Linked DNA regions of Homo sapiens: regions 2 and 3 are each linked to region 1. The links are contacts of gene promoters, found by promoter capture Hi-C in blood cells and fetal thymus (Javierre and others, 2016). All regions are on one chromosome and are shown on one strand. The core of a region is centred on a gene start or on the middle of the fragment in contact, and the rest is flanking DNA. Distances in the headings are between cores, read along the strand shown. Region 1 holds the start of FRY-AS1 (FRY antisense RNA 1). Region 2 overlaps BRCA2 (BRCA2 DNA repair associated). Region 3 overlaps BRCA2 (BRCA2 DNA repair associated).

Evidence for each region. Contacts are between HindIII fragments. The CHiCAGO score rates a contact against its expected background, and 5 or more counts as called.
Region 2: a fragment that was not itself captured here is called in contact with the fragment with the promoter of FRY-AS1 in region 1 in 1 of 17 cell types (megakaryocytes); the score reaches 6.5 in megakaryocytes.
Region 3: a contact is called between a fragment that was not itself captured here and the fragment with the promoter of FRY-AS1 in region 1, in 1 of 17 cell types (endothelial precursors). The highest score is 5.5, in endothelial precursors.

What each region holds. Positions count from the first base shown.
Region 1 is chr13:32,030,223-32,032,987 of GRCh38, reverse strand. It overlaps FRY-AS1 (FRY antisense RNA 1), which reads left to right and starts at 1,349. Exons shown (of 4, transcript NR_103839.1): 1 at 1,349-1,537. FRY (FRY microtubule binding protein) reads right to left here and starts at 1,214. Exons shown (of 61, transcript NM_023037.3): 1 at 1,123-1,214. The coding sequence starts at 1,192. The HindIII fragment of the contact is 3,062 bases long and covers 1-2,197 here.
Region 2 is chr13:32,341,692-32,344,487 of GRCh38, reverse strand. All of the region lies in intron 11 of BRCA2 (BRCA2 DNA repair associated), which reads right to left. Among named protein-coding and RNA genes, the nearest start is that of BRCA2, 28 kb to the right of the region's middle. The HindIII fragment of the contact is 3,996 bases long and covers 1-2,796 here.
Region 3 is chr13:32,394,953-32,397,452 of GRCh38, reverse strand. It overlaps BRCA2 (BRCA2 DNA repair associated), which reads right to left. Exons shown (of 27, transcript NM_000059.4): 26 at 409-555. Among named protein-coding and RNA genes, the nearest start is that of N4BP2L1, 32 kb to the left of the region's middle. The HindIII fragment of the contact is 1,458 bases long and covers 522-1,979 here.

The DNA.
Region 1 (2,765 bases), core at 100-2,599:
TCCTCAAAGCAATTGCAGCACAGGTTCTCCTGCCCAGGTTTTGTTTATATAAGAACAATCTTGGCCACAGGTCATTTGTGTAGGAGACAATTAATCACTAGCTCTTTGAGCACAGGTAGGTTAATCAGTATGCACATAATACAATATTAAAATTTTCACGGGGAAAAAATTTTTTTATTTAAAACAATAAAGCATCAGTAATACCTGCTGATCTTTTATCCAAAGCAAGTACAAAGGCTGTTAGTGAAATAGAGAAGACTTTCTTTTTAAACAGTTCGGAAAATACAAGGCATCATTGATCACCTGAAGGCCTCATTTTAATTTGATTCCAGATCCACGGCAGCTTAGAGGTTGTCTTTTTGAAATAGCGTATTGCTAAAATCCTTATGTAGGTCAGAAATGGAACTTCAGGAGCCATCATATTCTGCTATCCTAATAAATAATTAGGGTCAGAACCTCACTTGTTTATGTTTCAAAAAAGCACAATATTTGGACTATAGCAAACATCAGGATTTTTAAAAATTCAAATATTAAATGGCATTCAGAACATCATCCACATGGAAGAGGGAGAGATGAAATAAATCTGCAGATGCCTCTATATACAAAAAGGATGTCCTAGGTTTTGGACTATTAAATACTTTTCTTTCTTCAGACAATACCCTAAAAAAACAATTACAAAGTACTCTGAAACCCTGCCACACCCCTTTGATTAAATCACACTTCACAAAATATTTAGAGAAAGCCTGAACAAATCAAATAAACATCAAGGCAGGAAATGCAGCCAGGAATGCCTGATCCTGAGCTCCCCCAGAGTCTGAAGGGCTGCCTCACTTGAAAATTTAATCAAACACAATCTACTGTAATTCCATTGCAGCCTTTGCACTTAAGGAAAGCTAGTTCAGTCTCTGACATTTTGATTTTCACAGCAGATGGGAGCAAAAAAAGAAAGAAAGAAAGAAAGAAAAAGAAAGAAAGAAAGAAAGAAAGAGAAAAGAAAAGAAAAGAAAAAAAGAAAAACTTCCGCGGCTCACAAACATATGTGTCCAGTTGAGATTTTCTGTCTCCAGCCTTATGCAACATCCAGCAAACAAACAAACAAAAAGGTTATTTTCTATTACTCACTATTACTCCAGGATTTCAGTAAATATTTGATACTGATCTCAAAGAAGCCCGAATCCTGCTGGCTGGCCATGTCTGCGGCATACAAAGAGGCTGGGAGGACGGGCAGCGGCCGGGAGCAGGTACCGGGCGTGATGCGCCTGTCACAGGTTGTGATGTCAGCGCGGGGTCAGGCGCCCAGAGGCAGCTCTGCGGATCCACCTCCGGCTCCGGCCGGGAGTGCTCATCTAAAGGACACGGCGGAGCAGAGAGAGATGCTCGGCCGCTCCTCCTCCTCCGGGTCCAGGACTTGCTTCTTATTTGCTGGACGCTGATCTCCCTGCAGCCCTCGGAGGCGGCGGCCGCGCTGCTTTCATTTCGGGGCTGTCATCACCAGAAACGCCGGCTGCCGGCCGCCCACCAGCTCGGCTCCAGCCAGGTACGCAACCGAGGAAGACCCCACCTGAACTGGGATCGGCTTTCTTCTGGGAGGGAGGGTTTCTAGGCCGGCCTCCCTGACGCGGTGCAGGCAGCCTCCGGCCCACACGGCCGCCGCGGGGCTAAGGGATGGGCCGGGAGCGCCGCCCCCTGCCCCTGCCCACTGTCTCAACCTGAGCCGCGGCTCAGTCTCCGCCTAGGCTGCGGGAGGAATTTCCCAGCTTCTGCGGATCCTCTCTCTTCAGCAAGGCTTCCCGTGAGCGGCCCGGGTGTGCTCTGGCTGCTGCTTCCCCTTGTGTCTGTCCCTGAAATAAACACAACTGCAGCACGCTGCGGTAAGCAAAGCTGCAGCCTTGCATCTGGTTGCAGCGACGTTTTGAAAAACCCCATCCGTCAGCCTCGTTGCAGTAAAGAGACTCAACAAGAGGACGCTTGTCTGGGCTTTTTCTTCCCTGCCTTCCACACGCATGGTGGTATCTGCATTTTTACTTTTCCCTCCCAGAAATGCAGTCTTTTCAAGGGGCATCGGAGCCCGAACGTGTGCACTCTAAGGGGACAGTACACACTGCTTAGTTGGCTTGTTTTTGTAATGTCACACACTCCACAATGGATCTTATTCTCAAACCTCTCATTTCTAAGACTCACTAAGCCCAGTGAAGCTTATTTTATTTGTATGAAAAGGATAAGAAGCAAAAGCATTAGATTCCTTGCTCTACAATGGCTCTTGATTTCATGAATTCTTGATATCAGGTGTCCTGATTTTGGTTAGCTTTGTTTCACATTATCATTTAGCTTGACCAGGGGATTAAATAAGAGTATTATATTTTAATAATGACAGGTTATGTTGGAAGAGGTGGGATTTGGCCAACTATCTCATAAACCACAGGATCCTTCCCAAGTCCCAGTACATTCATGATTAATGTTGTCTAAAAAACAGAAAAAAGTAATAAACCATGTTAATAAGTATTTAACATAGCAAATGTTGGGCTAACTCCCCAAATCAACACACAAACAGGACTTCCTAGATTAACAGTTCATTTTAAAAATGGAAGGGAAAGACTACAATGTACTTTTATTGTTAGGACAAAGAATTTTTAAAATTCAACACTAAATAAAACTTCTAGAACTATGTTCTGAAAGGCCCTAAGATACTTCATCAATACAATTAGTTTTTCAAACTCATTACACTTACCCAAATGGCAAGCACTCAATCACTCAGATTTCCAACT
Region 2 (2,796 bases), core at 190-2,689, 310 kb before region 1:
CCATTTTTTTAAAGCTAAAGTATTGACTCTTTAAATGTTAAACAAAAATACTTACAACAAATAGTGACCTAATGTTTGAAAGAGTAAAGTCAGTCTTCAATGTCAATTACATTTTTGTTCTGTTTTGACCACTTTAAAACACCACTATTTAACAGGGTCTAAACAGGATAAATCCTAAATAGGATAAACAGATGCTACCAGATACCACAGATAAGCTACTTTTTGAAAAACTGACACTAAATATAACTCTAGGTTTACTGGCAATAAGGCCTAACAAAATTTCTTCAAATAAACTTTTTCTCTCTTTTTTTTTTTTTTTTTCAGCACGGGGGCAGCCATTAACTGAAGGAGTAATTTATTATGTAGGTCCTTGAATTAGAGTTAAGAGGCTTTTTACAATTATCAAATTACATTAAAGTACTAGTAATAGAAACAATTCTTATTTAAAAATTCTACAGAGGCTAAGAGGGTAAGATTAAACCATAATTCAAGGTAGGCATTTCCATGTCATGCTGAGATAATATATAACAGGTACTTTGCTTTTTGATGCTTTATTACAGGGAATAAATTTGTATAATTTAATAAGTAAAAATGTCCATGCAAGGCTTTAGGAGGTGTTAGATTATTATAAAAGTGGTTTAATTGTTTAACAGTGACCTGTACTGTTCCAGTAACCAGAAGCTGACTAAGTTATACACTTATATGTTACAGAAATGAGGGAAATTAAGTAGTAACACCGTTGAAAGCATTTACAAGTCTGAGTTATTGTTTTTTTTTTCCCTAGGTGGAAAGTCAATATACTTCAGTATGCACAAGAACAGAATGGGTTGCTATAAATAAAGCCATTATTTTCCACAAAAGAATTACAAATATCTTTAAGCATATATACCTCAGAATTTCACACTAAAGGACAGCAAATAGTTTAAGTACTATAAACGTACTACTTTGTCCATAAAGTAAATCCTATATTGAATGTGACCTGGACAACACTTGATTAAGTAAATCTGTATCCACCAGAATGACTTAGGGGCAAAAGGCACTTTTTGAATGAGGAGACTAACTTCGGTGTCTCTCTGTAATACATGGGGTCTAGACAGGAAGAGTTCTAATAACTAAAATATTTTTATGAGTTTATAGGTTTTTTAAAAAGGAACTAGTTATTTAAGATTATCCACTGAAATGTTGGAGTTTTGGCATTTGCTTTAATTGCAACTAACAAACAGATTCAATTATTTAAGATTATTACCAGTCAGATACACTAATAGAAAAAAACACACACAAAAAAACAAAACCAAATACATACCTAATATAGGTATGTATAAGGTTAACCTAATGCAGTCATTTGCCACATAATGACATTTTGGTCAACAATAGACCACATATGCAATGGTCATCCTATAAGACTTTAATAGTGGTCCCATAAGATTTTTTTTTTTTTTCAGATGGAGTCTTGCTCTGTCGCCCAGGCAGGAGTGCAGTGGTGCGATCTTGGCTCACTGAAATCTCTGCCTCCAGGGTTCAAGTGATTCTCCTGCTTCAACTTCCCTAGTAGCTGGGATTACAGGCGTGTGCCACCACCATGCCCAGCTAATTTTTATATTTTTAGTAGAGACAAGGTTTTACCATGTTGGCCAGGCTGGTCTCAAACTCCTGACCTCAGGTGATCCGCCTGCCTCAGCCTCCCAAAGTGCTGGGATTACAGGCATGAGCCACTGAGCCCAGCCCCATAAGATTTTAATACCGTATTTTTACTGTACCTTTTCTATGTTCACATACACAAATGCTTGCCACTGTGTTAAAACTGCCTAGAGTATTCAGGACAGTAACATGCTGTATAGGTTTGCAGCCTAGGAGCAATAAGCTATACCATACAGCCTAGGTATATAGTAGGCTATACCACCTAGGTTTGTGTAAGTATACTCTATGATGTTCCCACAATGATGAAATCTAACAATCTATTTCTCAGAACATATATCCCTGTCAAATGACACATGACTGTAGTTGAACTAAGTTGTTAGATATATATACATTTAAAAGGGAAGTTAAAATAGTCCACATAACATTAAGATCAAGATACCATTTACTAACAATACTGTTTTTAGATCACTTCCTAAATGAAAAAAAGGGAGCAAGCCAACACTTACTGAATGCTCTCTGCCTACTATATGTCAAGTTCACTGCTAAGTGCTTTAAATACACTTTTTTTTTTTTTTTTTTGAGACAGTCTCGCTCTGTTGCCCAGGCTGGAGAGCAGTGGTGTGATGTCAGCTCACTGCACCCTCCACCTCCCAGGTTCAGGTGATTCTCCTGCCTCAGCTTCTGGAGTAGTTGGGATTATAGGTGCGCGCCACCACGCTTGGCTAATTTTTTGTATTTTTAGTAAAGATGGGGTTTCACCATGTTGGTCAGGCTGGTCTCAAACTCCTGACCTCAGGTGATCCACCCACCTCGGCCTCCCAAAGTGCTGGGATTACAGGCATGAGCGCCACGCCCAGCCCTCATGGGAGGTGTTATTTGCATTTTATAGATAAGGAAACTGAAGCTATGTAAGTAGTGTAACTAAGTAGTATATATTACCCAGTAAATGGTATAATCGGAAACCAACTTTTTTTTTTTTTTTGAGACGGAGTCTCGCTCTGTCGCCCAGGCTGGAGTGCAGTGGCGGGATCTCGGCTCACTGCAAGCTCCGCCTCCCAGGTTCACGCCATTCTCCTGCCTCAGCCTCCCAAGTAGCTGGGACTACAGGCGCCCGCCACTACGCCCGGCTAATTTTTTGTATTTTTTTAGTAGAGACGG
Region 3 (2,500 bases), core at 1-2,500, 360 kb before region 1:
AGATACCCTTAGCAAGTATTAGCTATTTAAGAATCAGCCATTAGCCAATGTTAAAGACTTTAGCTTGATTTGCATCTACTGTGATTTAACCACTTAAATAGCTTAGAAACAGCTTACAAACAGCTTAGAAACAACCCTAATTGTATGGAACAGTGAAATAAATGACAAAAAACACTTTTCAATCACATGTAAATGAAAGCACCTGTTTGGAAAGTGTGCACCCAGAGTTTCATATCTTGCTTCAATAAATAAAATTTCTAAATAACTATACTTACAGGAGCCACATAACAACCACATTTTCTAATTAAGTTTAATTACATTTTACCATGTTTACTAGGTATACAACAGAATATACGATGGCCTCCATATATACTTCTTATAATATTCCTTGAGTTTACATTAACTTACCAGAAGCTTGTTTCCTGTACCAGGAATGATTTGAGCAGTGTACGGCCCTGAAGTACAGTCTTTAGTTGGGGTGGACCACTTGGGATCATTTGCATGCAGTATATGCATAAGCTTGTTTTCTGCTTCATTGCAAAGTATGTCAATATTCTAAGAAAATAAGTGGAAAAGCTGCTTTATAAATTGCAAACCCACATATTTATGTTTCCAAAAGTATTTCCTTTAAAAGCAGAAATGAAAAGTTTGGACCAAAAAAGAATGAAAAACCCTAAATGTGATACCAATTGTCAAACATGCCGATGCAAAATTACAAAACCAGTATCAGTGATTTAGGGGAATCTAGCTGATAGGGAGAGGGGAACAGAGAAAAAGTATGTGTATCTGAAGGAAAGAGATCTTCTCTGTCATCTAGTTTAATCAGCAAGCTGTCATATGATCTGGATTGAAGCTGGAAGATTGGGGCTCAAGTCCTAGCTCTATTTACTACTTAATAGCTGGGAATCATCTCACATCTATAAAGGTACTTCTTTGGTTAGAGAAAAGAAAGAATTGCCTCACCTACCTCACGTCTGTTCCAAGAATTAATTGAAATGATTTATAGGTTAAACTACATGAAACTGTTGCTTGAGAAATCACAACTGGTCAAATATCAGCAATTTCATATGGTTTAACCTAATTCATGACAGTATTTTGTAAAACTTTAAAATGCTGTGTAAATGACAGTTGTCTCTTCAGCAGGATTAGTAAACTGCCTTTGAAGACGTCTCAGAGAAAATGCGGGCTCGGTGGCTCATGCCTGTAAACCCAGTACTTGGGGAGGCCAAGGTGGGCAGATCACTTGAGGCCAAGAGTTCGAGACCAGACTGCCCAACATGGTGAAACCATGTCTCTACTAAAAATACAAAAATTAGCTGGGCGTGGTGGCACGCACCTGTAGTCCCAGCTACTTGGGAGGCTAAGGCACGAGAATCGCTTGAGCCCAGGAGGCAGACACTGCAGTGATCCGAGATTGTGCTATTGTACTCCAGCCTGGGGGTGACAAAGCAAGACTCTGTCTCTAAAAAAAAAAAAAAAAAAAAAAAAAAAAGAAAGAAAGAAAAAAAGAAAATGTGGGGTGTAAACAGTAGATATGCTGTATGGGAACTAAATAATGAATACAACTCCCACCCCTAATTTAGAAACTAGATATAGCAGAGTGTTATTCATTATGCATAGAGTCTCTAGGTAAAATGTCAACACAGCTTTCTTTATACAGCTACTCTAATGCTTTTAAAATATATTTTTATATAAATTCTGAATAACACACATTTCAAATATTAAACTACAGAATTAAGAGGCTTATTTTTTGTGTATTCTTCACTAGTTACCAACTCATGAAATCTCAAATTTTACTGGGAAGCAGCATTGCATAGCAGTTCCTAGTCTGGGTTCTGCATTCGATGGCCTAAGTATGAATCCTAGTTTTACTAACTTGGCATTTGACCTAAGGCAAGCCATTTAACCTGTTTCTCACTGATAAAATAGAAAAACAGTTCCCTACCTCATAAGGTTGTGGGAGAATTAAATGAGAAGCTTAGAACAAGGTCTGACACATAGTAAACACTCAATAAACACCAGCTAATATTATATAATGTATATATAGATTTAAGCAGAAAATGCATACATGATCTAGGGAAAATAATATCAGTGTCTCTTATCTGGGATTAAATCAAGTCAAAGAAATATAATCTGTATAAAACACTAGATATGGAGTTTAAATGTAAACCTGTAGTCTCTATATTATTAACTAATCACACTGCTGACTGCTGCAAACCACAGATAACTCATATTATTCTTGTAACCAATTTCCAGTTTGCTTACAAAGTCTGCATTTCTGAACATCCTTCTCACAATTTCTCCTAACTCATTTCCCTTCAAGTCATTCTTCTCTTTCTAGTTGCTGTCATTTCCCCATTCCCCCATCTCCTGAGGTTCATGGGCAATTAATATATGATTAAACTTTACCTCACATACTACCTCAACTATCCAATTTGTATAAAAGCTATTTCCTTGATACTGGACTGTCAAAATAGAAAAATACCAAAATGTGTGGTGA